4 separate regions of the Homo sapiens genome follow, and regions 2, 3 and 4 are each linked to region 1. Evidence: promoter capture Hi-C in human tissues and cell types (Jung and others, 2019). All regions are on one chromosome and are shown on one strand. The core of a region is centred on a gene start or on the middle of the fragment in contact, and the rest is flanking DNA. Distances in the headings are between cores, read along the strand shown.

Region 1 (8,000 bases), core at 1,906-4,405:
CAAGCGTGAGCCACTGCACCTGGCCTCCCTTCGGCATTCTATACATAGCTCTTTCTCACCTTCTCTCTCCATCTGTTTCTTTTCTGCATTTCCCCCTGGACTTCTGCTCATTTTATGCCCCTCTCCTGTTTTGCTCCATTCTTTTTTGTTTTTTGTTTGTTTGTTTGTTTTTTAGACGGAGTTTCGCTCTTGTTGCCCACGCTGAAGTCCAATGGTGCGATCTCAGCTCACCACAACCTCTGCCTCCCGGGTTCAAGTGATTCTTCTGCCTCAGCCTCCTAATCCAAAATTAGCAGGGCGTGGTGGCGCATGCCAGTAATCCCAGCTACTCGGGGGAAGTATCACAAGAGAATCGCTTCAACCCTAAAGGCAGAGATAGTCATTAGCCAAGATCGTGCCAGTGCACTCCAGCTTGGGCAAAAAGAGCAAAACTCCACCTCAAAAAAAAATAATAATAATAATTAGTAGGTAGGCCCGGCATGGCGGCTCATCCCTGTAATCCCAGTACTTTGCAAGGCCAAGACAGGAGGAAACTTTGAGCCCAGGATCTTGAGACCAGCCTGGGAAACATACTGAAACCCTGTTTCTACAAAAAAACAAACAAACAAAGAAAAAAAACAACTAGCTGGGCTTGGTGTCTCACACCTGTGGTCTCAGCTACTAGAGAGACTGAGGGAGGAGGATCGCTTGAGCCTAGGAGGTCGAGGCTGCAGTTAGAGTAGAGAACGCTATTGTAATCCAGCCTGGGTGACAGAGCCAGACCCTGTCTCAAAATATAAACTAATTAATAAATTAAAAGTATTATGTAATAAGAGAAAGTGATTTTTTTTCCCCCACATCACTGTCCCACTTCCTACCCCACCCTGGGAAAAGGGAAGAGACTGACTCACAACTGAATAACTGGGATTCCAAGTAGAAGCTAACCTCTGATACCAAAATTTATAGAATGTACATGTCTCATAGACAGGAGTTTTAAAATTCTAAATCTCATCTGTATAATTTAAACAAGGTATTAGATGATATACACAGAAGTCAACATGTCACAACTAATCATATCCAATGAACTCACCCACTTATCTGTACCCAAAGTCCCCCACCCTTTTTTTCTTTTGAGACAGGGTCTTGCTCTTTTGACCAGGCTGGAGTACAGTGGCATGATCTCTGCTCACAGCAGCCTGGAGCTCCTGGGCTCAAGTGATCCTCCTGCTTCGGCCTAGAGAAGCTGAAACTGCAGGTGCACACTATCACACCCGGTTAAATTTTTTTTTTCCTTTTTTGACAGAGATGGGGGGAGCCTCACTATTTTGCCCAGGCTGGTCTTGAACTCCTAGACTCAAGCAATCCCTTTGCCTCAGTCTCCTAAAGTGCTGAGATTACAGGCATGAGCCACTGCGCCCAGCCCCTCTTTCTTCATTACTGTGCTTCCCTCCCTAATTCTGTGCATATCTCTCATTCTCCCCTTCTCTCTCTAGCTCTTGTTTTCTTTTCTTTTTCCCTGGGATTGTGCTCCTCATTTTGTACCCCTCTCCTCTCCTGCTGTTTATCCCCTTCTTCCCTCTATTACTTCTCTTCCACCTCTTCTGCTCCATTCTCACAGCTTATTTAACCTCTTTTTTTTTTTTCCTTTTTGAGATGGAGTTTCACTCTTGTTGTGCAGGCTGGAGTGCACCGGTGCGATCTTGGCTCTCACCGCAACCTCTGCCTCCCAGGTTCAAAGGTTTCTCCTGCCTCAGCCTCCCTAGTAGCTGGGATTACAGGCATGTGCAACCGCTCCCAGCTAATTTTATATTTTTAATAGAGACGGGGTTTCTCCCTGTTGATCAGGCTGGTCTCGAACTCCGGACCTCAGGTGATCCACCCGCCTCAGCCTCCCAAAATGCTGGGATTACAGGCATGACCCACAGCGCCCGGTCCTTATTTAACCTCTTGTTGTTCTTTCTCCCCAATCTTTCAATCTTCCTCAATGTCTATATATTACAGCCTCTTCTCTTATCTCTCCGTCTCCTCTGCTCTCCCTATTAAATTCTCTCTTCCCTGTTATACCCCTCTGTCCCCACTCTCCAGCACCTCAGATCCCCAGGTGTCCTCCCTGCTGTGGTTCTCCATCTGTTCTTGCCACCAGCACCACTCTGCTCTGTCTGCCCTGGCTCCAAATCCCTCCTCCTCTCCCTCACTCTGGTGAGCCTCCCTCTTTGCTGCCCCTCTCCCTACCTTGCTGTCCTTCATCTTTCTGTACATCTAGCTTTTCTCTACATTTCTCCAGTTGCTTTTCTCCTCCTGCTTTCTTAGTTTTTTTTCTTTCACTTTTGCTGTCTCTTGGCAAATTCCTAACCCATCCTCTACTTTGCCATCTGTTATGGGCCTTTCTCATTCTTCTTTTCTCTGTCTCTGGTTTTCTACTGCTCTCTCAGTCCCTCTCTCTATCTCCTGATCCCTTTGGCCCAGGCGGGTTTGGAGTAATCACAGGCGGGTTTGGAGTAAGACGCCTGCATCCCGTAGAAGCGCATTTTCCAGGGGGTGGAGCTGGACAGGAAAGAACACCTGGTATCATAGGACAAGCCCCTGCGACCCACCCCAACCCTGGCTCAGGGGAAGCGAAGACTTGGGGAGCAGCAGGGCCCGGCACCAGGAGGGACGTGGTGGGCGACGGCACCCTAAGACAAAGGTGGGACCTGCAGGATCCCAGGACCAGGCAGAGGACGCAGCCTCCCCGGGGCTGGGGCCGGGGCGCCGCGCTCCAGGTGCCAACTGGGGCGAGGCTGGGAGGCGCCCAGGGCTGGAATCCACCTCGCGGGTGAGGACTTTAAAAAGCACGGGGCGGGAATAGTCAGAAAAATGTTTTGAGCAGGAAAAATACGCGATAGGAAGTGTATACATTGCCCTATAGCAGAAAGACCGGGGACGGGACCAGCCTCCGAGCGACTTCAAACCCAAAAGCAAGCAACTTCCAGACTCTTACCGGGACGTCTCAATTTGCTCTGGGTGAAGGGAAGACAGGCGAGAATTTCCAGGTCCGTGGGGATCCCACGTCCCAGGGGCAGAAGCGCCGGGGACCTGGGAAGTGCAGACTTAATCCAAGGCAGAGCAAAACTCACGCGCCGTGGTAGGACCTTCACTCCACGCGATCCGCTTCCGGGTTTGTGCGCGCCCAGGACTGAAGCCAGGCCGGGGCAGGTTGGCTGGACCTGGGCGGGGTAGAGGCGGGGCCCCAGGCGGAGAGACCTTGCCCTTTAGAACCGGCAGAGGGAGGGCCCGGGGCGGGACCTGTGCTTCTCAGCCTCGCACTCAGCGCCTCTGTTTTTCGAGTTTTTGGAGGCGACAGCGGCCAGGAAGGCTGAGGCATGATTCAAAAGCCCTGGAATTATCTGGAACGGGAATGCAAACTAGAATGTGAAATGCAAAGCCCTGCCAGGGCGGAACATACGATTTCATGCTGATGGCCCACAGAACAGAACAGAAATCCTCTCCCTTTCTATTCTCCATTCACTCAGGAGGGAGGGTCCACCCCGTGCTCAGCTTCAAAGTGTTCCCTAGGGCCTCCGCCTGGGATGCGGGACGGAGAGCTCAGGCCAGGGAGGAGTGAGGTCACCACCTGCTGCCTAAACACAGCAGGGATGCGGGCACGAGGCGGAAGCCTGAGGTCCCAGCTACTCAGGAAGCAGCGGCGGGAGAATCCCTGAACCTGGGGGTCCAGGCCATCCTGGGCGACAAAGTAACACCCCCTAACTGCAGGGTCCTCTTCCTGATCTCTCTCTCGCTCTTTTACTTTTTTTTTTTTTTTTTTTTTTTGAGACGGAGTCTCGCTGTGTCGCCCAGGCTGGAGTGCAGTGGCACGATTTTGGCTCACTGCAAGCTCCGCCTCCCGGGTTCACGCCCTTCTCCTGCCTCAGCCTTTCGAGTAACTGGAACTACAGGAGCCCGCCTAACCCAAACAAAAACAAGACCGGGCGCGCTGGCTCACACCTGTAATCTCAGCACTTTGGGAGGCTGAGGCGGGCAGATCATGAGGTCAGGAGATCGAGACCATCCTGGCTAACACAGTGAAACCCCATCTCTACTAAAAAATACAAAAAAATTAGCCAAGCGTGGTGGTGGGTGCCTGTAATCCCAGCTACTAGGGAGGCTGAGACAGGAGAATGGAGTGAACCCGGGAGGCGGAGCGTGCAGTGAGCCAAGATCGTGCCACTGCACTCCAGCCTGGGCGACAGAGCGAGGCTACGTCTCAAAAAAAAAAAAGAAAAAGAAAAAGAAAAAGAAATATCTCCCCTAGTTTGTCTCCTTTTCCAGAATTTACCAGATACCAGTACACAGATACCAGTGCATACATTAATGTATGACTTTCATACATAGATTCTCTGATCTGATCCACAAAGAGCTAAATGTGCATCCAGATGTGGCCCCTGAACAATCCCTGCTGCCCAATATCACTGACACCTTGGGGTCCACACCCCATCTCCATCCATCTCTGGTGTGAGCCCTTCCCAGGACCATGCCCAGTGCAGCCTCTTCCCAAGCTCATGTCACTAGGTTATAGAAGATGGAATTTAAGTGAAGATGACAAGGACTGAGAAAAGGCATGGGTTAGTGTGAGCAAACGTGTGAGGCAGGATGCTTCAGACTCACAGAAGACTGGCTACTACAATACCTGGCATTTCAGAAAGGAAAGAGACAGAAGAATCCACCGAGGAATATTACTCCACCTGAGGAAGAGCCATCCCTGGCTCCTTTTCTTTGCTCCTCTTGGTGTCTTCCTCACGTAACATGAGTCTTTGGAAAATCAATCCTGTATGTAAAAAAAAATACGAGATTTAATTTTTAGAAATCACTCCCTCCTTTCCTGTGACAAAACACACACACAGGGGAGACCTCACCAGGGATAAAGATGGTTCTCTGCTGCCCACTGCACCAGAGATTATGTGGAGATAAGAAGGTGCCACAGGAAGACCTACAAGGGCAATTTTGACCTGTTTTGAGGTCTTGCTCCCTCCTGCAAAAGTCCACACACACGCTGCAGCAGGACACAGATCTTCAGGGCACAGATCTGGCCCTAACCAAACCCCATGCAGAGCACAGCCCCCTCACCTCCCTGTGGATCACAGGCTGATCTCAGCTCTCAACATGGAGGAAACTGCCTTGATGTTCAATGCTGGAGACAGATGAGAATCACCTGCACCATTGTAGGTATTATTGAGGGTGGGTCCCATACTGTGATAATAGCAATCTCTGATAAAACAGCATAGAAGCTATATTTGCAAAATGCCTGAAAACCCTAATGTGAAGCCAAGTTTGAGCTCCACTCAGGGCACCAGCCCCGCAGAGCCCCACCTTCTGGCTCTGCTCTCCGCTTGGGGACTTGTTCCCACCAGGATCCAGTGAACAGCGAAGGAGCAAAAAGGATCACACAGAACAGGCAACATGGGCCAGAGATGGGGGTGAAGGTGGGGCTGTCATGTCAAATGGGGGACTGTGGGAGAACACAAAAGTTTTCATAGAAAAAGTGATGTCAGAACAAAGACTTAGGGAAGAAAGGCTGCTTGTCACTTGCAGCTGAGTGGCCAGAGAGTCCTAGGCAGAGGGACAGCCCAGGTGAAGGCCCTGAGAAAGGAGCAACCTGAGTCCCAGAAAAAGAAAAGAAGCCTGCATGGTTACAGTAGAGGTAGGGAGGAGGACAGAGGCAGGAGTTGATGTCACAGAGCTCCTGGGACTCAGATATCTAGGGATGAGGTCTTGAAACATTTTTCTCTCACATCTCAACTCAAAAGAATTTTGGAAATGTATTTTCTCACTCATTTTATGTATACATGTAACTTTCTCTTCTATACTTTGTCTCTGTGTCTCTTTCTTTTCAAAGTGTCTCGTTCCACCTGACGAGAAATGCCCACAGGTGTGGAGGGGCAACCCACCTCTTCACCAATGCAATCCATCCTGGGCAATGGAGCGAGACTCTATCACAAAAAAGTACAGAGTCCAGCCAGGGAGGCTGTCTCACACCTGGAATGCCAGCAATTTGGGAGGCCAACATGGGAGGATCCCTTGAGGCCAGGAGATCAAGGCTATGGTGAGGTATGATTGCAGCACTGTACTCCAGCCTGGACAACAAAATTAAAAAAAATATGAAAAATACGGCCGTACACTTTAATGAGCATTCGTGTGAAGAGACCACCAAACAGCCTTTGTTTGAGCAACATGGCTGTTTATTTCACCTGGGTGCAGGCGGGCTGAGTCCAAAAAGAGAGTCAGTGAAGGGAGATAGGGGTGGGGCCGTTTTATAAGATTTGGGTAGGTAAAGGAAAACTACAGTCAAAGGGGGTTTGTTCCCTGGTGGGTAGGAGTGGGGGTCACAAGGTGCTCAGTGGGGGAGCTTTTTGAGCCAGGATGAGCCAGGAGAAGGAATTTCACAAGGTAATGTCATCACTTAAGGCAAGGACCGGCCATTTACACTTCTTTTGTGGTGGAATGTCATCAGTTAAGGTGGGGCAGGGCATATTCACTTCTTTTGTGATTCTTTAGTTACTTCAGGCCATCTGGGCGTATACGTGCAAGTCACAGGGGATGCGATGGCCTGGCCTGGGCTCAGAGGCCTGACATACATGTGCCCCACGCCTTTAATTCCAGCACTTTAGGAGGCCAAGAAGGGCAGATCATGAGGTCAGGAGTTTGAGAACAGCCTGGCCAACATGGTGAAACCCTATCTCTACTAAAAATACAAAAATTTTGCAGGTGTGGTGGTGCACACCTTTAGCCCCAGCTACTTGGATGGCTGAGGCAGAAGAATCGCTTGAACCCAGGAGGCAGAGGTTGCAGTGAGTTGAGATCGCATCACTGCACTTCAGCTTGGGCAACAGAGCGAGACTCCATTTCAAAATAAATAAATAAATAAATAAAACAATTACCCACATGTGGTGACCCATGCCTATCTTTCAAGCTCTTTGGGAGTCTAAAGTCGGAATTACTTGAACCTAGGAGTTTCAGGCTGCTGTAAACTCTAAATTGTGCCTTTGTACTCTAAAACTAAGCCACAGAGCAACATTATCTCTCTCTCTCTCCTTTTTTTTTTTTTTTTTTTTTTGAGATGGAGTCTTGCTCTGTTGCCCAGCCTGGAGTGCAGTGGCACAATCTCGGCTTACTGTAACCTCGACTTCCCGGATTCAAGTGACTCTCCTGCCTCAGCCTCCTGAGTAGCTGAGATTACAGGCATGAGCCATCACTCCCAACTCATATTTTTAGTAGAGATGAGGTTTCACCATGTGGGACAGGCTGGTCTCAAACCCCTGGCCTCAAGTGATCCACCCACCTTGGACTCCCAAAATGCTGGGATTACAAGTGTGAGCCACCACACCCAGACCAACATGCTGTCTCTTTAAAAAAAAAAGTTTGAAGTCAGAGACATGTTGATCTACTAGTGTGACTTCAAATGCACTACCAAATCAGATACAAACTATCTCCCCTTATAGGTCTCCTTTTCCAGAATTTACCAGATATCTGTGCATATTAAAGTATATGTTTCATATGTGGTTTCTCTGATCTCATCCACAAAGAGCTGACATCCAGACATGGCCCCTGAACAATGCAGGCTGTGCAGCAGCACTGACACCACGGGGCCCACACCCCATGTCCATTGATGTCTGGGTGTGAGCCCTTCCCAGGACCATGCCCAGTGGAGCCTCTTCCCAAGTTCATGTCACTGGCTCACAGGAGATGGAATCTCAGAGCAGCTGAGAGGAACTGAGGGCAGGCATGGGTGAGTGCAAGTGAATGTGTCAGACAAGATGCTTCAGACTCAGAAAAGACTGGCTGCTACAATACCTGGCATTTCAGAAATGAAAGAGACAGATTAATCCAAAGAGGAATATCACTTCACCTGAGGAAGAGCCATGCCTGGCTCCTTTCCTTTCCTCTTCTGAGTGGCTTCCTCATGCAACATGAGTCCTTAGAAATCAATCCTGAATGTGAAAAAAAAAAGACTTCATGTCAGAAATGACTCACTCCCTTCCTGTGAC
Region 2 (8,000 bases), core at 3,712-6,211, 220 kb after region 1:
CATATACATCCTTGTAATATCATTATAAGAGAAATGCAAAGTAATTAGATGTTTCCAAAAAGTTAAAATAGAAACTACTTGTTTTTTGAAAAAGGGTCTCACTCTGTCACTCAGGCTGGAGTGCAGTGGTGCCATCTCAGCTCACTGCAGCCTCAACCTTTCTGGTTCAGGTGATCCTCCCACCTCAGCCTCCCTAGTAGCTGGGACTACAGGGCGTGCCACCACGCCCAGCTAATTTTTGTATTTTTTAGTAGAGATGGGTTTCGCCAAGTTGCCCAGGTTGGTTTCTGACTCCTGGGCTCAAGCCATCTGGCCGCCTTTGCTTTCAAACGTGCTGGGATTACAGGCATGAGCCACCATGCCTGAAACTACTTTCATCTATTGAGCTTATATTATAGCCAGTGTCACAGGAAAAAGCATGTGCATATTCTAACACAGACGGAACAATGAAAATGTTTACTACTGGGCCGGGCGCGGTGGCTCATGCCTGTAATCCCAGCACTTTGGGAGGCTGAGGCAGGTGGATCACAAGGTCAGGAAATCGAGACCATCCTGGCTAACATGGTGAAACCCCATCTCTACTAAAAATACAAAAAATTAGCTGGGCGCGGTGGTGAGCACCTGTAGTCCCAGCTACTCAGGAGGCTGAGGCAAGAGAATGGTGTGAACCCGGGAGGCGGAGCTTGCAGTGAGCCGAGATTGCACCACTGCACTCCGGCCTGGGCGAAACAGAGAGACTCCGTCTCAAAAAAAAAAAAAAAAAGAAAACTAAAAAGAAAATGTTTACTACTGTCAAAAAACAAATTTAGATATTGGTTAGATTTTATTCAAAAGGTATATTGCAATAGGGAAAATGCTCCAACCCCAAGATCTGCAAATATATGAGTTGCACAGAAAAGGGCTTCTCTTTTATAAGGAGAAGGAAGCAAGGTTAGAAAGCGCCAGGTACAGGGCAGTGGATAAGCATCTGCTGTGACCTATTCAGTGAATATTTTATCCTAAGGTCAGCTTACTCTTGGGATGGGACATTAAAAAGGCAAAGTTGGGCTGGACGCCATGGCTCATGCCTGTAATCCTAGCACTTTGGGACACCAAGGCGGGTGGATCGCTTGAGGACGGGAGTTCAAGACCAGCCTGGCCAACATGGTGAAACCCTGTCTCTACTAAAAATAAAAAAATTAGCTGGGGGTGGTGGCACAGGTCTGTAATCCCAGCTACTGGGGAGTTTGAGGCAGGAGAATCACTTCAACCCGGGAGGCAGAGCTTGCAGTAAGCCAAGACTCCATCTCTAAAACAAACAAACAAACAAAGAGAAGTTGTTCTCAATCACAGTGCCCATATGTGGTTAAGAAATAGAGGTTGTTAGCCGGGCACGGCGGCTCATGCCTGTAATCGCAGCACTTTGAGAGGCCAAGGCAGGTGGATCACCTGAGGTCAGGAGTTCGAGACCAGCCTGACCAACATGGAGAAACCCTGTCTCTACTAAAAATACAAAATTAGCCAGGCACAGTGGCGCATGCCTGTAATCCCAGGTACTCGGGAGGCTGAGGCAGGAGAATCACCTGAATCTGGGAGGCAGAGGTTGCAGTGAGCCGATATCATGCCATTGCACTCCAGCCTGGGCAACAAGAGTGAAACTGCCTCAAAAAAAAAAAAAAAAAAAAAAAAAAAAGAGAGAGAGAGAGAAATAGAGGTTGTTCTGAATTTCAATGGCCAAGAATAGTCCAACAGTCAGGGGCTTGGAGAAACAGGGAAGCCTAAGGTTTGAGTAAGTTAAGAAGCATTGTTTCCACCATCAGTGAGAAATCCTTGATGAGACAAACCGTGGGAATTTGGAGTTTTTTCTTATGTAAACAAAGAGGGTAAGCTTTGAAGTAAGCTGTTTCTAGGGAAAACAAAAACAAGGGATTGGGCAGGGGAGTGGTTTCCGGTGGGTTTTATTTGTTTTTTTGTTTGTTTGTTTTTGTTTTTGTTTTTGTTTTGCTTTTGCCCTAGAGGCCTCAAGAGGCCTGGGGAACATGTGCTCCTCTGGTGGTTTCTTCAATCTTTGCTATTTCTTCAACCCTTTACTAGGTTTACAGGGTTGTAATAAACTTCAACACTGTCACCACACGTAACATAAAACAAAATTTAAAAAATAATAAATATAGGCCAGGCGCAGTGGCTCACACCTGTAATCCCAGCACTTTGGGAGGCCGAGGCAGGCGGATCACCTGAGATCAGGAGCGAGACCAGCCTCACCAATATGAAGAAACTCCGTCTCTACTAAAAATATACAAAATAGCCAGGTGTGGTGGTGCATGCCTGTAATCCCAACTACTCAGGAGGCTGAGGCAGGAGAATCGCTTGAACCCAGGAGGCGGAGGTTACTGTGAGCCGAGATTGCACCATTGTACTCCAGCCTAGGCAACAAGAGCGAAACTCCGTCTCCAAGAGAAAAAATAATAATACATGTGTAGAATTTGAAAAATAGAACTAAAAATAGGAACAATAGCGATGTTGCCCCATACCTCAGTTTTTGAATGGAACGAAAGGGCCTTGAGTGTTCATTTTGGCTGTGTGTTATTCATTCCTATCACATACAAGAGACATTAGTAATTATTGGAAGATATGGCTCTAAATCTCTAAATTCAGGGGTCTGTGTAACTGTTAAATTGAACAGAAACCTAGAGATATATTAAGACAAATAGTGGGCTGGGTGCGATGGCTCACACCTGTAATCCTAGTACTTTGGGAAACTGAGGCGGGTGAACTGCCTGAGCTCAGGAGTTTGAGACCAGCCTGAGCAACATGGTGAAACCCTATCTCAAGTAAAAATACAAAAAAATTAGCCAGGCGTGGTGGTGTGAGCCTGTAATCCCAGCTAATCGGGAGGCTGAGGCAGGAGAATTGCTTGAACCTACCTGGGAGGCAGAGGTTGCAGTGAGCCAAGATCACACCACTGCACTCCAACCTGGGTGACAGAGCGAGACTCTGTCTCCAAAAGAAAAAGAAAAAGAAAAATGGTGTTTCCTTTTCCATTTTCCTGCTGACCATGGAAAAACACACTCTCACAGTTTTATCAATTCTTTGGTAACAATTACAAAATGCAAGCACTGGTTCACGTCGACAGCCCAGAGTCCGCAAATCCTCTGCTCTGAGCCCGTCCGGACTTCCCCGATCCCAGCCTTCTCTCCTTTGAAAACACTAAGAATGACATCACTGCATCAGTTTTTACTAGAGCCAATCACCTGTCGTGCCTGGAACAGGGATCGTACCCAGATTGCCCTCAGTCCTGATAATCAGGAAGCGCACATCTATAAGAAGCATGGGAGCCAGCGAGTGAAAGCTCGTGAACTCAGTGAGCACAATGGACATATCACAGGCATTCACTGGGCTCCCAAGAGCGACCGCATCGTCACTTGCGGGGTAGACTGCAATGCCTATGTCTGGAGTCAGAAAGATGGTGTCTGGAAGCCAACCCTGGTGATCCTTAGAATTAATCGTGCAGCTACTTTTGTGAAGTGGTCCCCGCTAGAGAACAAATTTGCTGTGGGAAGTGGAGCATGACTCATTTGTTTGTTACTTTGAGTCTGAAAATGACTGGTGGGTAAGCAAGCATATTAAAAAGCCGATTCGCTCCACAGTCCTCAGCTTGGATTGGCATCCCAACAATGTTTTGCTGGCAGCAGGATCATGTGACTTCAAATGCAGAGTGTTTTCTGCTTACATTAAAGAAGTGGATGAAAAGCCAGCCAGCATGCCCTGGGGCACCAAGATGCCTTTTGGGCAGCTGATGTCAGAGTTTGGTGGCAGTGGCACCGGTGGCTGGGTCCACGGGGTAAGCTTCTCTGCCAGTGGGAGCCGCCTGGCCTGGGTCAGCCACGACAGCACCGTTATCTGTTGCTGATGCCTCAAAAAGTGTGCAGGTCTCAATTCTGAAGACAGAGTTCCTACCACTCCTGAGTGTGTCATTTGTCTCAGAGAACAGTGTCGTGGCTGCTGGCCATGACTGCTACCCAATGCTCTTTAATTATGATGACCGCGGCTGCCTGACCTTCGTCTCCAAGTTAGACATTCCAAAACAGAGCATCCAACGCAACATGTCTGCCATAGAACACTTCCGCAACATGGACACGAGGGCCACGATTGAGGACCACAACATGGCCTTGGAGAGGCTGCACCAGAATAGCATCACTCACGTCTCTATTTATGAGGTAGACAAGCAAGGTTGTCGCAAATTTTGCACTACTGGCATTGATGGAGCCATGACAATTTGGGATTTCAAGACCCTCGAGTCTTCCATCCAGGTCCTCCACATAATGTGAAGCTGAGTGAGCCTTCGCCATCTAGCATGACAAACTGTGGCCAACCGCAGCTGTGCCGTGGCACGATGGCGAGGAAGCTAGACCCAAGGAAACACTGAAAACACATAGCAGGCCAATGCTGTGTGGTTTTGTTTGAATATAAAATTGGTGAAAATGCTGGTTTTTTTAAAGCAGTATTTTTTTTTTTATTTTTTTATTTTTTTTGCGATTTCATTCCATTCTTGACCAAAGCTTCCCTTTAAGTAGTTTATTATGGAAAATTGTCACACTAACTTAAAAGACAGGGTGAGGGAGATATGTAAATTGTCCACTAGAAAATTAAATAAAAGAACTAAATGTGGGAAAAAAAAAAAGAAAGAAAGAAAATACAAGCACTTAGGTCGGGTGCAGTGGCTTACGCCTGTAATCCCAGCACTTTGGGAGGCTAAGGCGGGTGGATCACCTGAGGTGGGGAGTTTGAGACCAGCCTGACCAACATGGAGAAACCCCATCTCTACTAAAAATACAAAATTAGCCAAGCACAGTGGTGCATGCCTGTAATCCCAGTTACTCGGGAGGTTGAGGCAGAAGAATCGCTTGAACCCAGGAGGTGGAGGTTGCAGTGAGCCGAGATGGCGCCACTGCATGCCAGCTTGGGCAACGAAAGCGGAAAAAAGAGGCCGGGCATGGTGGCTCACACCTTTGGGAGCACTTTGGGAGGCTGAGGTGGGTAAATCACCTGAGGTCCGGAGTTTGAGACCAGCCTGGCCAACATGGTGAAACCCATCTCTACTAAAAATTAAAAAAAAAATTATCTGGGCATGCTGGCGGGCGCCCATAATCCCAGCTACTTGGGAGGCTAAGGCAGGAGAATCCCTTGAACCTGGGAGGCAGAGGTTACGGTGTGCCGAGATTGCACCACTACACTCCAGCCTGGGTGACAGAGTGAGACTCCCTCCCCACCGCCCCCCCAAAAAAAAAGAAAAAAGAAAAGAAAATACTAGCACTAATTTATATGTCAGATTCATGTCACATCTCAAATTCATCTAAATTTTCTTGACATCCCTTTTTATACCAGTGGAGCCCTGATGAAGACACTTAATAGAAGTTTTCTCTCTATCAGAGAAATAAGTTGATGAGAATAAACTCAACGAAGGTGAAAATTCTGTTTTTTTCTGTGACCTGGGGGAAAAAGCTTAAGGTGAATTTACATTCAGATTGGTTATACAGAGAGAACATACAGAAGTGGATGAACTCGGTGTAATTAAGTTTTTCTATCCACAAACCAGGTGAAAGTATTGCAGGAGGCAGATAGCGAGGCATGAGCAGGTAAGGAGATTCTGTGTCACCCGCAAGGGGTCCTGATCCAGAACCTAAGAGAGGGTTCTTGGATCTCACGCAAGGAAGAATTCAAGGTGAATCCATACAGTAAAGTGAAAGCAAGTTTATTAAGAGAGTAAAGGAATAAAGTATGGCTACTCCATAGTCAGAGCAGCCTCCTGTTTCATCCTATGACTAAGAATGCCTTCACTTACTGGGAATGTAACCCAGCAGGTCTCAGGCTTATTTTCTCCAGCCCCTATTCCAGATGGAATTGCTCTGGTTCAAATGTCTCTGACACTTTGGAAAGGAATATTTAGAAATGCAACTCACTGGCCAGGCACAGTGGCTCATGCCTGTAATCCCAGCACTTTGGGAGGCCGAGACAGGTGGATCACGAGGTCAGGAGATCAAGACCATCCTGGCTAACACAGTGAAACTCCATCTCTACTAAAAATACAAAAACTTAGCTGGCCTGGTGGTGGGCGCATGTAGTCCCAGCTACTCAGGAGGCTGAGGCAGGAGAATGGCGTGAACCCGGGAGGCGGAGCTTGCAATGAGCCGAGATCGGGCCACTGCACTCCAGCCTGGGTGACAGAGCGAGACTCTGTCTCAAAAAAAAAAAAAAAAGAAAAGAAAAAAGAAAAAAGAAATGCAACTCACTGAGAGTCTCCTTAAAGATGCTGCCCACTGACAGCAAGAAAAGATCAGTGGCTACATTGCCTCCACCTGGCCTTGTGGCTGCACTCCTCTGGCCCAGAAGGGGACTTATCAGGGGCTAGCTGGACATAATCGAGATGGGGGATTTTCCCCATTAACAACCATGTGTACTTCTGCAATAACCCACCCTAGAAGAGCCTTCTGCTCAAAATGATACTGAAACACACATCCCTGGCTGGAGATTTGAGATGCTAATGAGATATGTGACGTGTGTACCAGCACGGACCGTCACAGGGCTTTCCTGATCAGAGGACTTCCTGGAACGTGCTTACTAGGAACATCCCTGCACAGCCCCTTCATGAATAATCATGTCAGATTCTCACAAAAAGGCTCTGCCCAACACTAGTAGGGACAGGCTCATTCTTTTGAGGAGCCCACCCTGCTCCACTGTTCAGGGTATCTCTTCTTTCCGAGCTCCTACGCCTTTAGATAAAGGGCACTTACCTGCTTAACTCTTTCTGCGTGTCTCTTGACTGAATTCAAGGAGACCAAGAACCAGAGGACTTCCACGCCCCTCCTGGTAACATCTGGTGTTTTCCCCTGGTGGCCTGTGAACTGTTCTTCTGGGTAAGTGCCAAAAAGCTGGTGCCAGATCCTCTGGTTGACGACCTCTGCTTCTTTCTGCACTGAAGAACCTCCTGCCCTAATGCAGATCTTGCAGCCTTAAGGGGAGGGGCTTTTCCTCTCGGGCTCTGTTCACTATCAACTGCCCAGTACCATTTCCCTTCAGCCACTGTCACTCTGCTCCCTCTGGCTGACTTCTCAGCTCACCCTGAGGGGTGACAAGCAGAGGAGGGAGGATTTAAACTCCACAGTGAGTAGATCTGAGACACGGTGACCCTCCCTGCAGGAGGCTTGTGAAGGTGGCAGAAAATCCACCCTGGCTGTGCAGTGACTGGGGAGCTTCATATCTTCAACTAAAACTACTATTCCATGTTGAGTCGGCTCTTCTACTTGCTGTTCATGGCAGTTCATTCTCCTGGACACAATATGCCGCCACCGGTGAATAATCCCCCAGGTCACTCTGCTTACTCTTTGCTGTCCCTGTCCTCGTCGCCGGGCTTCCTTGAATTCCTCCTTCGTGTACAAGTGCCTTGTCTGTCCTGCTTGTCTGGGACCTGCTGCGTTTGCTTCACTGCCAATCGCCGGAGGCCTGCCCGGGCCTGTGAGGAAGTTTATACTTATTTTTTCCCTAGAGATGAGACCCAGCTTCGTCCTTTCAGTTGCCTCCTTTCTCACTGCAGGGACCGGCACTGGCAGGATGCTCGCTTACAGGCATCCCTCGTTTACTATCGGGTCCTTCTCCGCCCGACTACTCTTCAAGAATGCCTCATTCTGTGGCTCCTCAAGCGAGCTGTCTGGTTCCTCCGGATGGTCATTTATAGGCCTCTTTCTCAGACCCCAGTTTCTCTTTACAACCGGGGTTTCCTGTGGGTCAATGGGAAGTTCTTCATCCGCCTCCTCAAGCCATTGTTACAGACCTGTACGGCAGTCAGGTGCTTTTTGTATTATGTTGAAAAAGCTGACAGAAAATGCCCCCGGCACTCCCCTTGCTGCTTATGTGATCATATCAGGGACGTAAAAAACCAGAATCAACAGCCCAGTCCACTAACTCTGAGCCCCAGGGGCCTTCCATGCCTGTTTAAGCATTTTTTCTGTATGATCCCCAAGGAA
Region 3 (8,000 bases), core at 1,446-3,945, 190 kb before region 1:
CACTACACCTGGCTAATTTTTTTGTATTTTTAGTACAGATAGGGTTTCACCATGTTAGCGAGGATGGTCTCGAGCTCCTGACCTTGTGATCCACCTGCCTCGTCCTCCCAAAGTGCTGGGACTACAGGTGTGAGCCACTGCACCTGGCCTACCATCTGTACTTAATTGGAAACCTATTGGTCTTTATATTTTTTAGATAGCTCTTTAAAATCCATGATGGAGTTCTCATCAACTGGGCACGGTAATACAGGAGAAGTGATTCACACAGGGACGTTGCAAATACATGAAAGTCATCACACTGGAGATTTTTGCTTCCCAGAAATCAAGAAAGATATTCATCACTTTGAGTTTCAGTGGCAAGAAATTTAAAGAAATGGCCATGAAGCACCCATGACAGAAACCAAAGAGTTGACAGGTAGTACAGACTGACGTGATCAAAGACATGCTGGAAACAAGCCTATTAAAGATCAGCTTGGATCAAGCTTTCATTCGCATCTGCCTGAACTCCACATGTTTCAGACCCAAGGGAAAATTGGTAATCAAGTGGAGAAGTCTATCAATGATGCTTCCTCAGCTTCAACATCCCAAATAATTTGTAGGCTCAAAACCCATATTTCTATTAAGTATGGGAAGAATTTCCTCTATTCTTCATTATTCACACAAATACAAGAAGTACACATGAGGGAAAAACCTTTCCAATGTAATGAGTGTGGCAAAGCCTTTAATCATAGCTCATGTTTAAGGAGACATCACGTAACCCATTCAGGAGAGAAACAGTATAAATGTGATGTATGTGGCAAAGTCTTTCATCAGAAGCAATACCTTGCATGGCACCATAGTGTTCATACTGGAGAAAAACCTTACAAGTGTAATGAGTGTTCCAAGACCTTCAATCAGAAGTCATCCCTTCAGTGTCATCATAGACTTCATACTGTACAGAAACATTACAAATGTGAAGAATGCAACAAAGTTTAGAGTTGAGGATCACAACTTGAAACACACAGGAGAATTCATACTGGAGAAAAACCATACAAACGTAAGGTTTGTGACAAGGCTTTCTGGGATAATTCATGCCTTTCATGCCGTAAGAGTTCATACTGGAGAGAAATGTTACACATGTAACGAATGTGGCAAGGCTTTTAGTAGAAAAGCAAACCTTGCACATCATGGACTTCATACTGGAGGGAAATCTTACAAATGTAAGGGTTGTGACAAGGTTTTCCACCATGATTTATGCCTTGCACAACATCAGAGAGTTCATACTGGAGAGAACCTTACACATTTCACGAGTATGGAAAGACCTTTGCTCAAAATTCAGCCCTTGTAATGCATAAGGCAATTCATACTGGAAAGAAACCTTACACATGTAATGAATGTGGCAAGGTTTTTAGTAGAAAAGCACACCTTGCATGTCATCATAGACTTCATACTGTCTAAGGTTTCTAATCAACAATCAAACCTTGCACAACATCAGAGAGTTTATACTGGAGAGAAACCTTACAAGTGTAATGAGTGGGGCAAAGCCTTAAGTGGGAAGTCGTCACTTTTTTATCATCAAGCAATCCATGGTGTAGGGAAACTTTGCAAATGTAATGATTGTCACAAAGTCTTCAGTAATGCTACAACCATTGCAAATCACTGGAGAATCCATAATGAAGACAGATCTTACAAGTGTAATAAATGTGGTAAAATTTTCAGACATCGATCATATCTTGCAGTTTATCAGCGAACTCATACTGGAGAGAAACCTTACAAATATCATGACTGTGGCAAGGTCTTCAGTCAAGCTTCATCCTATGCAAAACATAGGAGAATTCATACAGGAGAGAAACCTCACAAGTGTGATGATTGTGGCAAAGTCTTGACTTCACGTTCACACCTCATTAGACATCAGAGAATCCATACTGGACAGAAATCTTACAAATGTCTTAAGTGTGGCAAGGTCTTCAGTCTGTGGGCACTCCATGCAGAACATCAGAAAATTCATTTTTGAGATAACTGTTCCAAATACAGTGACTATAGAAGATCATAAAGCTTTAATTGACATTAGAGCCAAATAGGCATTGACTTGAGATTGAGTTGACTTAACCTTGAGTTTAAGAATTAATTTACATTAAAGTGTTTATGTTAAGAAGATTGGGCCAGGTGGGGTGGCTCATGCCTGTAATCCCAGCACTTTGGGAGCCCAAGGCTGATAGATCACAGCCACACCTGGCTATGAGAGTGTGTAGGTGGCCGTTGGGGTGGGACCTGATTAGAAGGGGCAGGGCCTTGAACAGAATCTGGGCGGGGCAAGAATGAGGAGGCTGCCTGGAGGCCGGGCCAGAGGGTGATCGTCATCTTGAGGGCAAGGTCTGGAAGTGGTGTTTTGAAGGGCAGGGTCTCGAGGGGGCGGGTCCTGGCTTTCTCCTCAGCTGGACCCCAGGTGTCGTCTGCTGTCATCCTCTTGCCCTGCAGGACTAGATTCTCCGGGTACTAATTGGTGGATAGTTTCTGATGTGCCGTGATATTACCCCTAATATCACAGGGATGCCTCCTGTCCATTTTAGAGACTTGCTCTGTCGCCCAGGCTGGAGGGCAGTGGCGCGATCTCGGCTCATTGCAAGCTCCGCCTCCCGGGTTCATGCCATTCTCCTGCCTCAGCCTCCCGAGTAGCTGGGACTACAGGCGCCCGCCACCATGCCTGGCTAATTTTTTGTATTTTCAGTAGAGACGGGGTTTCACTGTGTTAGCCAGGATGGTCTCGATCTCCTGACCTCGTGATCCGCCCGCCTCGGCCTCCCAAAGTGCTGGGATTACAGGCGCGAGCCACCGCGCCCGGCCCCTAAGTTAATATTTCAAACAATCGAAGGTAAAACAACATATTGTGTTGGGCCACCTGTACTGAACGCTGAATCGTTTTTCCTCTTAAGTTGAAAATGGTTTTAATGCAAAGCGCCTTTTTTGAGCAGGTAGAGTCACGCATCCGGCAGGCGGGGCGAGCTCCCCTCTGTCTGGGGCAGGGTGGGGGAGAGGGGCAGGGACCTCGGTAAAGGGGTGGAGTGGCGCGCTGGTTGCCGCGGGCACTGGCAATTAGAAGGGATTATTAAACTAAGCAAGGTCCTGGGTTGTTTGAGTGGATAATGGAAACTGAAAGGTGACGTGCAAAACTGCCTATTACTCCCAGGAGTGGAGGATAATTTCATATTTCATGGAAATAAACTCAGGGCCCGGAGCGGTGGCTCACACCTGTAATCCCAGCACTTTGAGAGGCCAAGGAGGGAGGATCGCTTAAGCCCAGGAATTCGAAATCAGCCTAGGCAACATAGTAAGACCTCATCTCTACTAAAAATAAAAAAAAACAGCCAGGTGTGTTAGTCCACACCTGTGGTCCCAGCTGCTTGGGGTGCTGAGGTGGGAGGATCACTTGAGCCAGAAAGTTGGAGGCTGCAGTGAGCTCTGATCTTGCCACCACACTCCAGCCTGGGTGAAAAAGCTAGACCCTGTCTCAAACAAGCAAATAAATGAGAGGTATAAGTCCTCCTTTAAAAGTAAAGGAAGAGATTTTTCTTTCCTTTTGTCTCTTAGAACATTCAATTAGAAAATTTGTAAATTCATTTTCTCTGTCTTCTGAGGTTTTTTTTTTTAGACAGAGTTTTTCTCTTGTTACCCAGGCTTGAGTGCAAGCCACGATCTCGCCTCACCACAACCTCCGTCTCCCGAGTTCAAGCGATTCTCCTGCCTCAGCTTCCCGAGTAGCTGGGATTACAGGTATGAACCACTATGCCCGGCTAACTTTGTTTTTTTTTTTTAGAAATTAAACCTTTTTTCAGCTTAATGACCCAGGGGTGTATTTTTGAAGGACTTGGGAGCTCTCTTTGAAAGGCAAACAACAAGGGAAACAGTACCTTTATCTCAGTAGGAAATTAAATAATTCAAACATCAAATAACTTCAATTTAAGGCTATGGACTTTGAGATAATTCTGAGCCTTGAGAGGAATGTGGTCAGGCAACCTGAGTCCAGTGGAATGCAGGTGCAACTTCTAAGAGTTTTCCTGTAAGTAATTAAGAAGACTAAGTAGCCCCAGAGATAAGACCTCCTCGGATCATTGTCCCTTCTTATGTAGTGATAAAGTAACCTTCCTTGAAGTGTATCTATCCGTAATCAATCAAGTTGCTGCAGCCTATGCACTGGCCCAGAATAAAAAACGTGGTGATTCTGCTAAAGCTTCTCTGTCTTTCCCTGTGTGTGAAATCTTAACGTCTCTACTTGGGAACGCTGATCCCATTCATTTAGAGTTGATGTTTCCACGTGGCTATTTCCAAGCTTTGCCTTCAAATAAATTCTGTACTTAATCATATATTCTAAATTTTATTATTTACTGCTGACATCAGTTTCTGTCGGATTGTAGGAGCCTCACCAGAGAGGGCCCCTGTCGCCATGTTGTAAAACTCACACTTGCCAAAAGTTGTGGGTTAGGGTTTCTCCCCCTCCCTCAGGATGACGCTAGTTAGCTGACACAGATGGTCACCTCCATTACCAAGTAGAGTCAGGATGAACTATGTGTGACTGTTCAACTATGTGTCCTCTTCCCTGAGGACTGATTAGTGTTTATCTTGAAAACATGTCCTTAATGGGTTGTATAGAACACTGAAGCATCTGATTTCAAACTCTTAGCTCTTTTCCTCTATTTCCCATCACATTCTGGTCTAAGGCTTATTTATTAATAAAATGATTTTTATTTCTTTATTATCGTGGAGATGATTTTTCATTTGGGGGAAGATCATTTTGTTTTCAAATATATTGTCTCAACATTTAAATAGTGAAGTAAAGAGTATTTCTTGTGCCAGGCATGGTGGCTCACGCCTGTAATCACAGCACTCTGGGAGGCCAAGGCAGGCAGATCACTTCAAGTCAGGAGTTTGAGACCAGCCTGGCCAACATGGTGAAACCCCATCTCTACCAATTATACAAAAATTAGCCGGACATGGTGGCGCGCTTGTAATGCCAGCTATTCCGGAGGGTGAGGCAGGAGAATCACTTCAACACAGGGTGTACAGGCTGCACTGAGCCGAGACCTTGCCACTGCACTCCAGCCTGGACGACAGAGAAATACTCTGTCTTAAAAAAAAAAAAAGGAAATTAAGAAAGTAATAGATCTCCTCCACAAATGTGCTGGGACAACTAACTTGATATTCACATGGAAAAGAATAATGTTGGATCCCTACATCACACAATCAAAATTTTATTTTAAAAAGTTAGAGAACGAGGAAGGGAGCCCTGCGGGAGGGGGTGTTACTTTGTCGCCCAGGCTGGTCTGGAACCCCAGGCTCAGCAACCCTCCCGCTGCTGCTTCCTGAGTAGCTGGGACCTCAGGCTCCCTCCCCAGTGCCCGCATCTCTGCTGTGTTTAAGCAGCAGGTGGTGACTTCGCTCCTCCCTGGCCTGAGCACTCCGTCCCGCATCCCAGGCGGTGGCCCTAGGGAAGTCTCTGAAGCTGAGCACAGGGTGGACTCTGCCCCCACCGCCGACCCGCCCTCCCCGACCCCGAGTGAATGGAGAATAGAAAGGGAGAGGATTTCTGTTCTGTCCTGTGGGCCCTCAGTATGAAATCGTAGTTCTGCCCAGGCAGGACTTTGCATTTCACATTCTAGTTTGCATCCCCGTTCCAGACAATTCCAGGGCTTTTGACTCATGCCTCAGCCTTCCCGGCCAGTCTCCCTTCCAAAACCCGAAAAACGGAGGCGCTGGGCTCAAGACTGACTCTGTCCCGCCCCGGCCCCGCCCTCTGCCGGTTCTAAAGGGCAAAGTCTCTCCGCCTCGCGCCCCGCTTCCGCCTGCCCAGGCCCCGCCCACCTCCTCCTGGACCCCGCCCAGGCCTGGCTTCTGTCCTGCGCGAGCAGATCAGCGCGAACCTGGAAGCGGAGAGCGTGGAGTGAAGGTCCCACGGCAGCGCGTGAGTTTCTCTCTGTTTTATATTAAGTCTGTGCGTCCCAGGTCCCCGGCGCGTCTGTACCTGGGACGTGGGGTCCCCACAGACCTGGAAATTCTCGCCCGTCTTCACCCAGAGCAAATTGAGACTTCCCTTTGAGAGTCCGGGGTTCACTTCCTTTTGGGTTTAAAATCGCCTTGAAGCTGGTGCGGTCTCTGGTCTTGCTGCTATAGGGCAATGTATACACTTTGTATTGGGTAGTTTTCCTGCTCAAAACCTTTTTCTAACTCCTCCCGCCCCGCGCTTTTTAAAGTCCTTACAGGTGAGGTGGATTCCCGCCCTGGGCGCCTCCCACCCTCGCCTTCGACGGCCCCTCGAGTGCAGCGCCGTGCCCCCAGTCCCGCGGAGGCTGCGTCCTCTGCCTGGTCCTGAGATCCTTCAGACCCCACCATTGTCTTAAGGCGCCGTCGTCCCCCACCTCCCTTCTCGTGCCGGGCCCTGCTGCTCCCCAGGTCTCCTCTCCGCCGTCACCGCTTCCCCTGAGCCCGCGTTGGGAAGGTGTCCGGGGCCTGTCCTGTGACACGGGGTGTCCTTGCCTGCCCAGCTCCAGCCCCTGGAAAATGAGCTCCCCCGGGATGCAGACGTCTTACTCCAAACCCTCCTGTAATTGTATGGGCCAAAGGAATCAGGTGAGAGAGAGCAGTAGAAAACCTGAGATAAGAAAAGAGCAGGAGGAGAAAAGCAACTGGAGAAATGTAGAGAAAAGCTAGATGTACAGAGAGATGAAGGACAGCAAGGAAGAGAGGGGGCAGCAAAGAGGAAGGCTCATCAGAGTGAGGGAGAGGAGGAGGGGTTTGGAGCCAGGGCAGACAGAGCAGAGTGGTGCTGGTGGCAAGGACAGAGGGAGAAGCACAGCAGGGAGGACTACTGTGGGTCTAGAGTGCCATAAAGTGTGGACAGGGATGTATAACAGGGAAGAGAGAATGTAACAGGGAGAGCAGAGGAGGCGCAGAGATGGGAGAAGAGGCGGAATCTATGGAGGTTGAGGACAATCCAAAGATTGTGGGAGAAGGAGCAATAAGAGGTTAAATAAGTAGCGAGGATGGAGCAGAAAAGGTGGAAGAGAAGTAATAGAGGGAAGAAGGGGATAAACAGCAGAAGAGGAGAGGGGCAAAAATGAGGCACGGAAGCCCAGGGAAAAAGACAAGAAAACAAGAGCTAGAGAGAGAAGGGGAGAATGAGAGATATGTACAGATTTAGCGAGGGAAGCACAGTAATGAAGACAGAGGGGCTGGGCGCAGTAGCTCACGTCTCTAATCCCAGCACTATAGGAGACTGAGACAAGGGGATTGCTTGAGTACAGGAGTTCGAGCAACATAATGAGACCTCCCCATCTCTGACCAAAAAAAAAAAAAAAAAAAAAAATTAACCGGGCGTGATGGTGCACAGCTGTAATCCTAGCTACTCTGGAGGCTGACGTAGGAGGATAACTTGAGCCCAGGAGGCCCAGGCTGCAGTGAGCCGAGATCATGCCACTGCACTCCAGCCTGGTCAACAGAGTGAGACACTGTCTCAAAAGAAAAAAAGGAGCGGGGGACTTTGGGTAAAGATGAGTAGGTTAGTTCACTGGATATCATTAGTCGTTGACTTCTTTGTATATAATCTGATAACTTAAAACTTGTTTAAATTATACAGATGAGGTTGAGAATTTTTAAACTCCTGTCTATGAGACATGTACCTGTAAATCTTAGCATCAGAGGTTAGCTTCCACCTGAAATCCCTATTCAGCCAAACAGCAGTGACTTATTCAGTTGTGAGTCACTCTCTTGCCTTTTCCCAGAGTTGGGTAGGAAGTGGAGCAGTGAAGTGGGAAAAAAAAAATTGGTGTTATTACATAATACTTTTAATTTAATTAATTAATATTTGGGATGGGCTCTGGCTCTGTAGCCCAGGCTCACGACTGTAATCCCAGCACTTTGGGTGAGGCTAGTGGATCACTTCAGGTCAGGAGTTTGAGACCAGCCTGGCCAACATGATGAAACTCCGTCTCTACTAAAAATACAAAAATTAGCCGAGCATGGTGGTACTC
Region 4 (8,000 bases), core at 530-3,029, 130 kb before region 1:
AAATTAGCCAGGCTTGGTGGAGCATGCTTGTAGTCCCAGCTACTCAGGAGGCTAGGAAGGAGAATCGTATGAACCTGGGAGGTGGAGGTTGCCGTGAGCCGAGATCACGCCACTGCACCCCAGCCTGGACAAAAGAGTAAGACTTCATCTGAAAAAAGAAAAAAAAATGACTGCCACAATTATCACAGTTGTGAGGTTCTCTCCCATATGAATTCTCCTGTGTTTTGCATAAGATGAAGCTTGACTGAAGACCTTGCTGCAATCATGACATTTGTAACGTTTCTTTCCAGTATGAGTTCACTGATGAACTGCAAGCTATGAACAATGTCTGAAATATCTGCCACATTTACTACACTTGTAAGATCTCTCTTCATTATGGATTCTCTAATGATTTGCAATGCTTGTAGCATTACTGAGGACTTTGTGAGAATCATTACATTTGTAAAGTTTCCCTATACCATGGATTGCTTGATGATGAATAAGTGATGACTGCCCACTAAAGGCTTTGCCACACTCATTGCACTTATAAGGATTTTCTCCAGTATGAAGTCTATGATGGCATACAAAGGATGACATATGACTGAAGGTCTTGCCACACTCATTGCACTTGTAAGGTTTCTCTCCACTATGAAGTCTATAATGGTATACAAAGGATGACATATGACTGAAGGTCTTGCCACACTCATTACACCTGTAAGGTTTCTCTCCAGTATGAACTCTCTGATGTTGTGCAAGGTTTGACTGTTGATTAAAAACCTTGCCACATTCATTACACTTGTAAGGTTTCTCTCCAGTATGAATTGCCTTATGAATTAGAAGGGATGAATTTCGAGCAAAGGTCTTGCCACACTCATGACAGTTGTAAGGTTTTTCTCCGGTATGAAGTCTACGATGGCCCACAAGGGATGACTTCTGACTGAAGGTCTTGCCACACTCATTACACTTGTAAGGTTTCTCTCCAGTATGAAGCCTATAATGACATGCAAGGTGTGCTTTTTGATTAAAAACCTTACCACATTCATTACATGTGTAAGGTTTCTCTCCAGTATGAACTCTCTGATGTTGTGCAAGGTATGAATCACGCTGGAAAACCTTGCCACATTCATTACATGTGTAAGGTTTCTCTTCAGTATGAACTCTGTTATGGCGTGAAAGGCATGAATTATGCCTAAAAGCTTTGTCACAAACCTTACATTTGTATGGTTTCTCTCCAGTATGAATTCGCCTATGTGTTTCAAGTTGTGATCTGCAACTGTAAACTTTGTCACATCCTTCACATTTGTAAGGTTTCTCTCCAGTATGACGTCTACGATGCCCTACAAGGGATGACGTCTGACTGAAGGTCTTACCACACTCATTACACTTGTAAGGTTTTTCTCCAGTATGAAGTCTATGATGGCGTGTAAGAGATGACTTGTGACCGAAGGTCTTGGAACACTCATTACACTTGTAAGGTTTTTCTCCAGTATGAACTCTATGGTGCCATGCAAGGTATTGCTTTTGATGAAACACTTTGCCACATACATCACATTTATATTGTTTCTCTCCTGAATGGGTTACATGATGTCTTCTTAAATGTGAGCTATAATTAAAGGCTTTGCCACACTCATTACATTGGAAAGGTTTTTCTCTCATGTGTTCTTCCTGGATTTGTGTCAATAATGAAGAATGGAGAAAGTTCTTCCCATACCTATTAGAAATATGGGTTTTGAGCCTACAAGAAATTCTTTGGGATGTTGAAACCAAGGAAGCATTGTTGATAGACTTCTCCACTTGATTATCAATTTTCCCTTCAGTCTGAAATTCGTGCAGTTCAGGCAGATGTGAATAAAAGCTTGATCCAAGCTGATCTTTAATAGGCTTGTTTCCAGCATGCCTTTGATCACGTCGGTCTGTACTACCAGTCAACTTTTTGATTTTTGTCATGGGTGCTTCATGGCCATTTCTTTTAATTTCTTGCCACTGAAACTCAAAGTCATGAATATCTTTCTTGATTTCTGGGAAGCAAAAATCTCCAATGTGATGACTTTTATGTCTTTGCAATGTCCCTGTGTGGATCACTTCTCCTGTATTACCGTGCCCTGTTGATGAGAACTCCGTCATGGATTTTAAAGAGCTATCTAAAAAATATAAAGACCAATAGGTTTCCAATTAAGTACAGATGGTAAATAATATTTAATACTGAAATGTGTTAATATTACACAAAAAGCAATACTTATTTTAAAATTCCCAAATATGATCTTCAAAGTTTAAGAACACCCTGTCTCTATTAAAAATACAAAAATTAGCCAGGCATGGTGGTGGATGCCTGTAATCCCAGCTACTCAGGACGCTGAGGCAGGAGAATTTCTTGAACCTAGGAGGCAGAGATTGCAGTGAACAGAGATCACATCATTGCACTCCAGCCTGGGCAACAAGAGCAAAATTCCATGTCAAACAGAGTTCAGTCAAGAGCCTCATATATATGATGCAGTAAGCCTGAATGATGTCCTCCCTAAGAGGAATTTCTACAGCAGTGACTGCTGTTTAGAGAACATGATCATTAGTTTATGTGATGATCACTGTCACAGTACCAGTGAGAGATGCTTCTGTGATGCTCCTTAAAAACCAGAACAAAAGGCCAAGGGTGGTGGCTCAGGTTTGTAATCCCAACACTTGGCTAGAGGCTGAGGTGGGCAGATTGCTTGAGACAAGGAGTTTGAGACCAGCCTGGCCAACATGGTGATTCCCCATCTCTAATAAAAATACAAAAATTAGCAAGGCATGGTGACTTGCATCTGTAATTCCAGTTAGGTTGGGAGGCTGAGGTATGAGAATTGCTTGAATGCAGGAGGCGGAGGTTGCAATGAGCTGAGATCACAACAGTGCACTCCAGCCTGAGCAAGAGAGGGAGACTCTGTCTCAAAAAACAAAACAAAACAAAAGCAGAATCACAGCTGGAAACACTTGTCAGTCACTGTCATGCTTTCTAGCTCATCTCCTGGGCCACCCTGACAATTCTGCTCAGGGCTACCAGGGGCATCTCTGCTTAGAGCAGGATGACGTTCAATTCTATTAGTCAAAGTGTTCATGAATGTTCTGTTTTTATGTAAAACCACTCCATAGGATAGTCTCTAAGAAGCTGTCTATGACAGACAGGAGGATCATCACTGCAGAAAACAATGACATGTACATCAAAAGCATGTATGCGGCAAAATCACAAAAGAGAATACAAAACCAGGAAGAGCCAAGATAGACAAGGGCAGATTCCTCACATCAGGAGGGACATTTTCCTCACCCACAGACTCCAGGTTCCTGTAGTTCTCCAACATCACGGCCCTGTATAAAGCCCTCTGTGCAGGGTTCAGGCATTTCCACTCCTCCAAAGAGAATTCTATAGCCACATCCCTGAAAGTCAAGCATCCCTAAAATTAAACACACATTTCAACAAAACATTAGGGAGGAGTCATTACCTTCACACAAAATGAGAAAAGAGAAAATAAGTATTGATTTGATCCAAGACGGTGTTCTGACAAACCCACATTAAGGTATTTTTGAACATTTCTTTTTGTGCAGTTGCATTTTATTGTACTTTCCCATGATAGATTTTGAAATCTCCTAGTCACTGTGGAAGTCTCAGTTTTATGGAAAATACAAAAAATATATGTCTGGGCACGGTGGCTCACACCTGAAATCCCAGCAGTTTGGGAGGCTGAGGTGGGTGTATCAACTGAGCTCAGGAGTTCGAGACCACCCAGGGCAACATGGTGAAACCAAGTCTCTACTGAAAACACAAAAACATTAACTGGGTGTGGTTGTGCATGCCTCTAGTCCCAGCTATTTGGGAGGCTGAGGTAGGAGTATAGCTTGAGCTCCAGAGGCAAAGGTTGCGGTGAGCTGAGATTGTGCCACTGCAATTCAGCTTGGGCTGCAGAGTGAGACTCCGTCTCTCTCTCTCTCTCTCTATATATATATATAGCCAGGCATGGGGGCTCACACCTATAATCCTGTCACTTTGGGATACCAAGGTAGGTGGATCACTTAAGGTCAGGAGTTTGAGACCAACCTGGGCTACATTGTGAAACCCCATATCTACTAAAAATAGAAAAATTAGCTGGGCATGGTGGGGGAATGTGCCTGTAATCCCAGCTATTTGGGAAGCCGAGGCAGGGGAATTGCTTCAACTCTGGAGGCAGAGGTTGTGGTAAGCTGAGATGACAGCACTGCACTCCAGCCAGGGCAACAGAGCAAGTCTTTCTCAAAATAAAAATATATGTATGTATATATTGCAAATAATGTGTTTTCTACTAAAACCATGGGCTTGGCTTGGCATGGTGGCTCACACCTATAATCCGAACACTTATGGAGGCTGAGGCATGTGGATCACAAAGTCAAGAGATTAAGACAAGCTGGGCCAACATGCTGAAACACTGACACTATTAAAAACACAAAAATTAGCTTGGTATGGTGGTGTGCGCCTGTAGCCCCAGCTACTCAGGAGGCTGAGGCAGAAGAATCACTTGAACTCGGGAGGCTGAGGTTGCAGTGAGCTGAGATAGTGCCATTTCATTCCAGCCTATCGACAGAGCGAGACTCCGTCTCAAAAAAAAAAAAAAAAAAAAAATCATGGGCTTCTCCATTAATGCTCTCCTGGACACATTGCAAATCACACCTACACACACTTCAATTAACTTCAGTCGGGACATTATAAGCAAAGACCTAGAGAGGACACATCCACAGCTACTCACGAGGCTGAGGTGGGAGGATTGCTTGAGCCTGGAGAGCAGAGTTTGAAGTGATCCAAGATTGCACCACTGCACTCCAGCCTGGGGGACACAGCGAGACCCTATCACCCCCACCCTCCCAAAAGTTGGAAGCTCATTGAATTAAGAGACAACTTCAAGAAATCATAAATGCAATGCATGAAGAAAATGAGAAGGTCAGCCAACATACAGAAATTACGAAGAACTACACAGAAACTCTCGGGCTAAAAATACAGTAACTAAATGGAAAAACTCAATACATGGGTTCAAAATCAGAATACATTATGTAAATTAAAAATTAGTGAAAAGGGGACAGGTGAGGTAGCTCATATCAGGAATTTGGGAGGCTGAGGTGGGTAGATCACTTGAGGTCAGCAGTTCGGAGACCAGCCTCATCAATATGGTGAAACTTTGTCTCTACTAAAAATACAAAGATTAGCTGGGTGTAGTGGTGGGCTCCCCACTGCACTCCAGCCTGGGTGACAGAGTGAGACTGTCTCAAAAAATAATAAAATAATTTTTTAAAAAAGGCCAGGCATGGGCCAGGCACAGTAGCTCATGCCTGTAATCCCAGCACTTTGGGATGCCAAGGCAGGCGGATCACCTGAGGTCAGGAATTCGCGACCAGCCTGACCAACATAGAGAAACCCCGTCTCTACTAAAAATACAAAATTAGCCAGATGTGGTGGTGCATGCTTGTAATCTCAGTTACTTAGGAGGCTGAGGCAGGAGAATCGCTTGAACCTGGGAGGTGGAGGTTGCAGTGAGCCGAGATTGCATCATTGCACTCCAGCCTGGGCAACAAGAGAAAAACTCTGTCTAAAAAAAAAAACAGGCATGGTGGCTCATGACTGTAATCCTAGCACTTTGGGAGGCCAAGGCGGGGGGATCACCTGAGGTTGGTAGCTCAAGACCAGCCTGATCAACATAGAGAAACTCTGTCTCTACTAAAAATACAAAATTAGCCGGGTATGGTGATGCATGCCTGTAATCCCGGCTATTCAAAAGGCTAAGGCAGGAGAATTGCTTTAACCATGAAAGCGGAGGTTGCAATGAGCCAAGTTCATGCCATTGCACTCCACCCTCGGCAACCAGAGTGAAACTTCATCTCAAAAAAAAAAAAAAAAAGTAGTGAATAGGAAAAGAAACAACAACAAAGAATAAAGAAAAATGAAGGGAGTCTAAACAGACTAACAGGACACCATCAAGGACACCATCCTACACATTATGAAAGTCCCAGGCCAGGTTCTGGCTCATGCCTGTAATTTCAGCACTCACGCCTGTAATTCCAGCACTTTGGGAAGCCAGGGTGTGGGGATCACCTGAGGTCAGAAGTTCATGACCGGCCTGGCCAACATGGTGAAATTTCATCTCTACCAAAAATACAACAATTAGCCAGGTGTGGTGGTGCGCACCTGTAACCTCAGTTACTTGGGAAGCTGAGGTGAGAGAATCGCTTGAATCCAGAGGCAGAGGCTGGAGTAAGCCGAGATTGCACCACTGCACTCCAGCCTGGGTGACAGTGTTGGGATTTACTCAAGATAGGGGCAGAAATATTAAAGAGAAATATTAGGGAAAGTTATAGGGAATAGTCACAAACCTTTTGGAAGGCCGAAAGGTTATATAGCTTGTAATAATTGAACAGGCTGAAGGCACCCGGTTCTTACCTTAGAGCATTAGGTCATAGGGTAAATACTAGGGACAATAGAGGCTTCCCCAGTTAAGCCTGTTTACCCTACCTCCATTAACTAACCTTTGAGCCAGATGGCCCTCTAGCGGGAGGCTGACCAGGGAAATTGCCCCTTAATGGTATTTACTTCAGATCACAGTACCTGAGCTTTAATCATTCATGAAACTACTCTCTTAACCATGCTAATTATCCTCAAGTGTGTTTACTCAAACTTCTGTTGTTAATTCTATTCTAAATAAATGCCTGGAGTGCGAGCTGCTCAGGGCCGGCTCTTGGTGTGCAGGCGATTGGGCACCCAGCAGGACTGGCAAAGCAGAATATCTATGTGTCGGTGTACGTTTCATTCATCCGTCTGGGCCAGGGTCCGTGGGCAGACCCCCGCAGCTAATGCCCTCTTGTGAGGAGCAATACCTCAGTTGATGTCCTGTGTGAGGAAAGTCAGGGATCTGCAGAAACAGACCCCCCACAGTTCAAGCCTCTCTTGAGGCAACCTGTGAAGGAAGCGTGAGGACCGCCCTCTTGAGGAAAGCTGCGATGGAAGCATGAGGAACGCGACCCCCGAAAACAAAGGCAAAGAAGGATTTCGTGGTCAAGCCAGTGAGTAATCAGTAAGTCATTGGTGCCCACTCGAGGTTACCACCTTCTGGGGGAAGTTGAGTCAAGCTAAGGTTTCATCACGGGACAATAGTTGTCAGCTCAACAGAAACGGTATATAAAAATGTTCAGACAGTTGCTTAAGGCTACTGGTCGGAAACACAGCAGAACTAGCAAAACGGAATTATCTGTGTGTCAGTGTATGTTTTATTCATATGTGGTTTAGGTCAGGGTTGACATGCAGATCCCACAGCTAATGCTCTCTTGTGAGGAGCAATACCTCAACAGAGCAAGACTCCAACTCAAAAAAAAAAAAAAGAGTACCAGAAGTCACAGAAGTGAGTGAGAAGAAGAAAGGAACAGAAAAGCTTGTTGGAAGGCATAATGGCAAAAATTTCTAATTTCAGGATGCAAAAGAAACAAATTCAACACCTTAAGAATATCCAACATGGATAAATCTAAGTAAGAGACCTATAACAAACAACATCATAATAAAACTGTCAAAATTCAGAGATAGAGAAAGAATCCTAACAACAGCCAAAAGAAGAGCTAACTCTCACCCAAGAGGGAGCTCCTGTAATATTATCAAGATATTTCTCGGCTGGGTGGGCGGTAACTCACGCCTGTAATCCCACGACCTTGGGAGGCTGAGGCGGGCAGATCATGAGGTCAGGAGTTCGAGACCAGTCTGGCCAACATAGTGAAACCCATCTCTACTAAAAATACAAAAAATTAGCGGGGTGTGGTGGTGTGCGACTGTAATCCCAGCTACTCAGGAGGCTGAGGCAGGAGAATTGCGGTGGTAAGACCATGGTGGTAAGAATCATGGTGGTAAGACCACAGTAGTAAGCTTTGCTTAAGTGAGTGGGAAATTTTGCATAGTCTTAGTCAGAGAGGGCACCTCTGCAGCTGGGGGTAGGGATGGAATCTTCCCACATCTAAAAGAGGAAATGGCAAATCCAAGAAGAAGCAAT

The links. Contacts are between HindIII fragments. The study calls those that stand out against the background at their distance.
Region 2: a contact is called between a fragment that was not itself captured here and the fragment with the promoter of ZNF600 in region 1, in 1 of the 25 tissues and cell types used here (pancreas).
Region 3: a contact is called between a fragment that was not itself captured here and the fragment with the promoter of ZNF600 in region 1, in 5 of the 25 tissues and cell types used here (heart left ventricle, mesendoderm cells, pancreas and 2 more).
Region 4: a fragment that was not itself captured here is called in contact with the fragment with the promoter of ZNF600 in region 1 in 2 of the 25 tissues and cell types used here (H1 embryonic stem cells and adrenal gland).

The regions. Positions count from the first base shown.
Region 1 is chr19:52,783,636-52,791,635 of GRCh38, forward strand. It overlaps ZNF600 (zinc finger protein 600), which reads right to left and starts at 3,156. Exons shown (of 6, transcript NM_001321866.4): 1 at 2,960-3,156. RefSeq lists silencers at 241-417, 3,165-3,314 and enhancers at 2,116-2,974, 2,975-3,832, 6,135-6,665, 7,197-7,726. The HindIII fragment of the contact is 28,786 bases long and covers 1-8,000 here.
Region 2 is chr19:53,000,845-53,008,844 of GRCh38, forward strand. It overlaps LOC124904758 (a long non-coding RNA gene), which reads right to left. Exons shown (of 2, transcript XR_007067327.1): 2 at 5,716-7,807. It also overlaps the pseudogene ARPC1AP2. Among named protein-coding and RNA genes, the nearest start is that of ERVV-1, 9.1 kb to the right of the region's middle. The HindIII fragment of the contact is 4,230 bases long and covers 2,847-7,076 here.
Region 3 is chr19:52,595,421-52,603,420 of GRCh38, forward strand. It overlaps LOC137778871 (a long non-coding RNA gene), which reads left to right and starts at 5,881. Exons shown (of 3, transcript NR_197425.1): 1 at 5,881-5,935. It also overlaps a transcript of ZNF701 not described here and the pseudogene ZNF137P. RefSeq lists a silencer at 5,741-5,800 and enhancers at 5,921-5,980, 5,933-6,439, 6,051-6,100, 6,761-6,840. The HindIII fragment of the contact is 3,122 bases long and covers 1,135-4,256 here.
Region 4 is chr19:52,652,284-52,660,283 of GRCh38, forward strand. It overlaps LOC122539214 (Zinc finger protein LOC122539214), which reads right to left. Exons shown (of 4, transcript NM_001396016.1): 3 at 3,278-3,404; 4 at 1-2,120. The coding sequence ends at 385. It also overlaps a transcript of ZNF83 not described here. Among named protein-coding and RNA genes, the nearest start is that of ZNF83, 18 kb to the left of the region's middle. The HindIII fragment of the contact is 5,670 bases long and covers 1-4,614 here.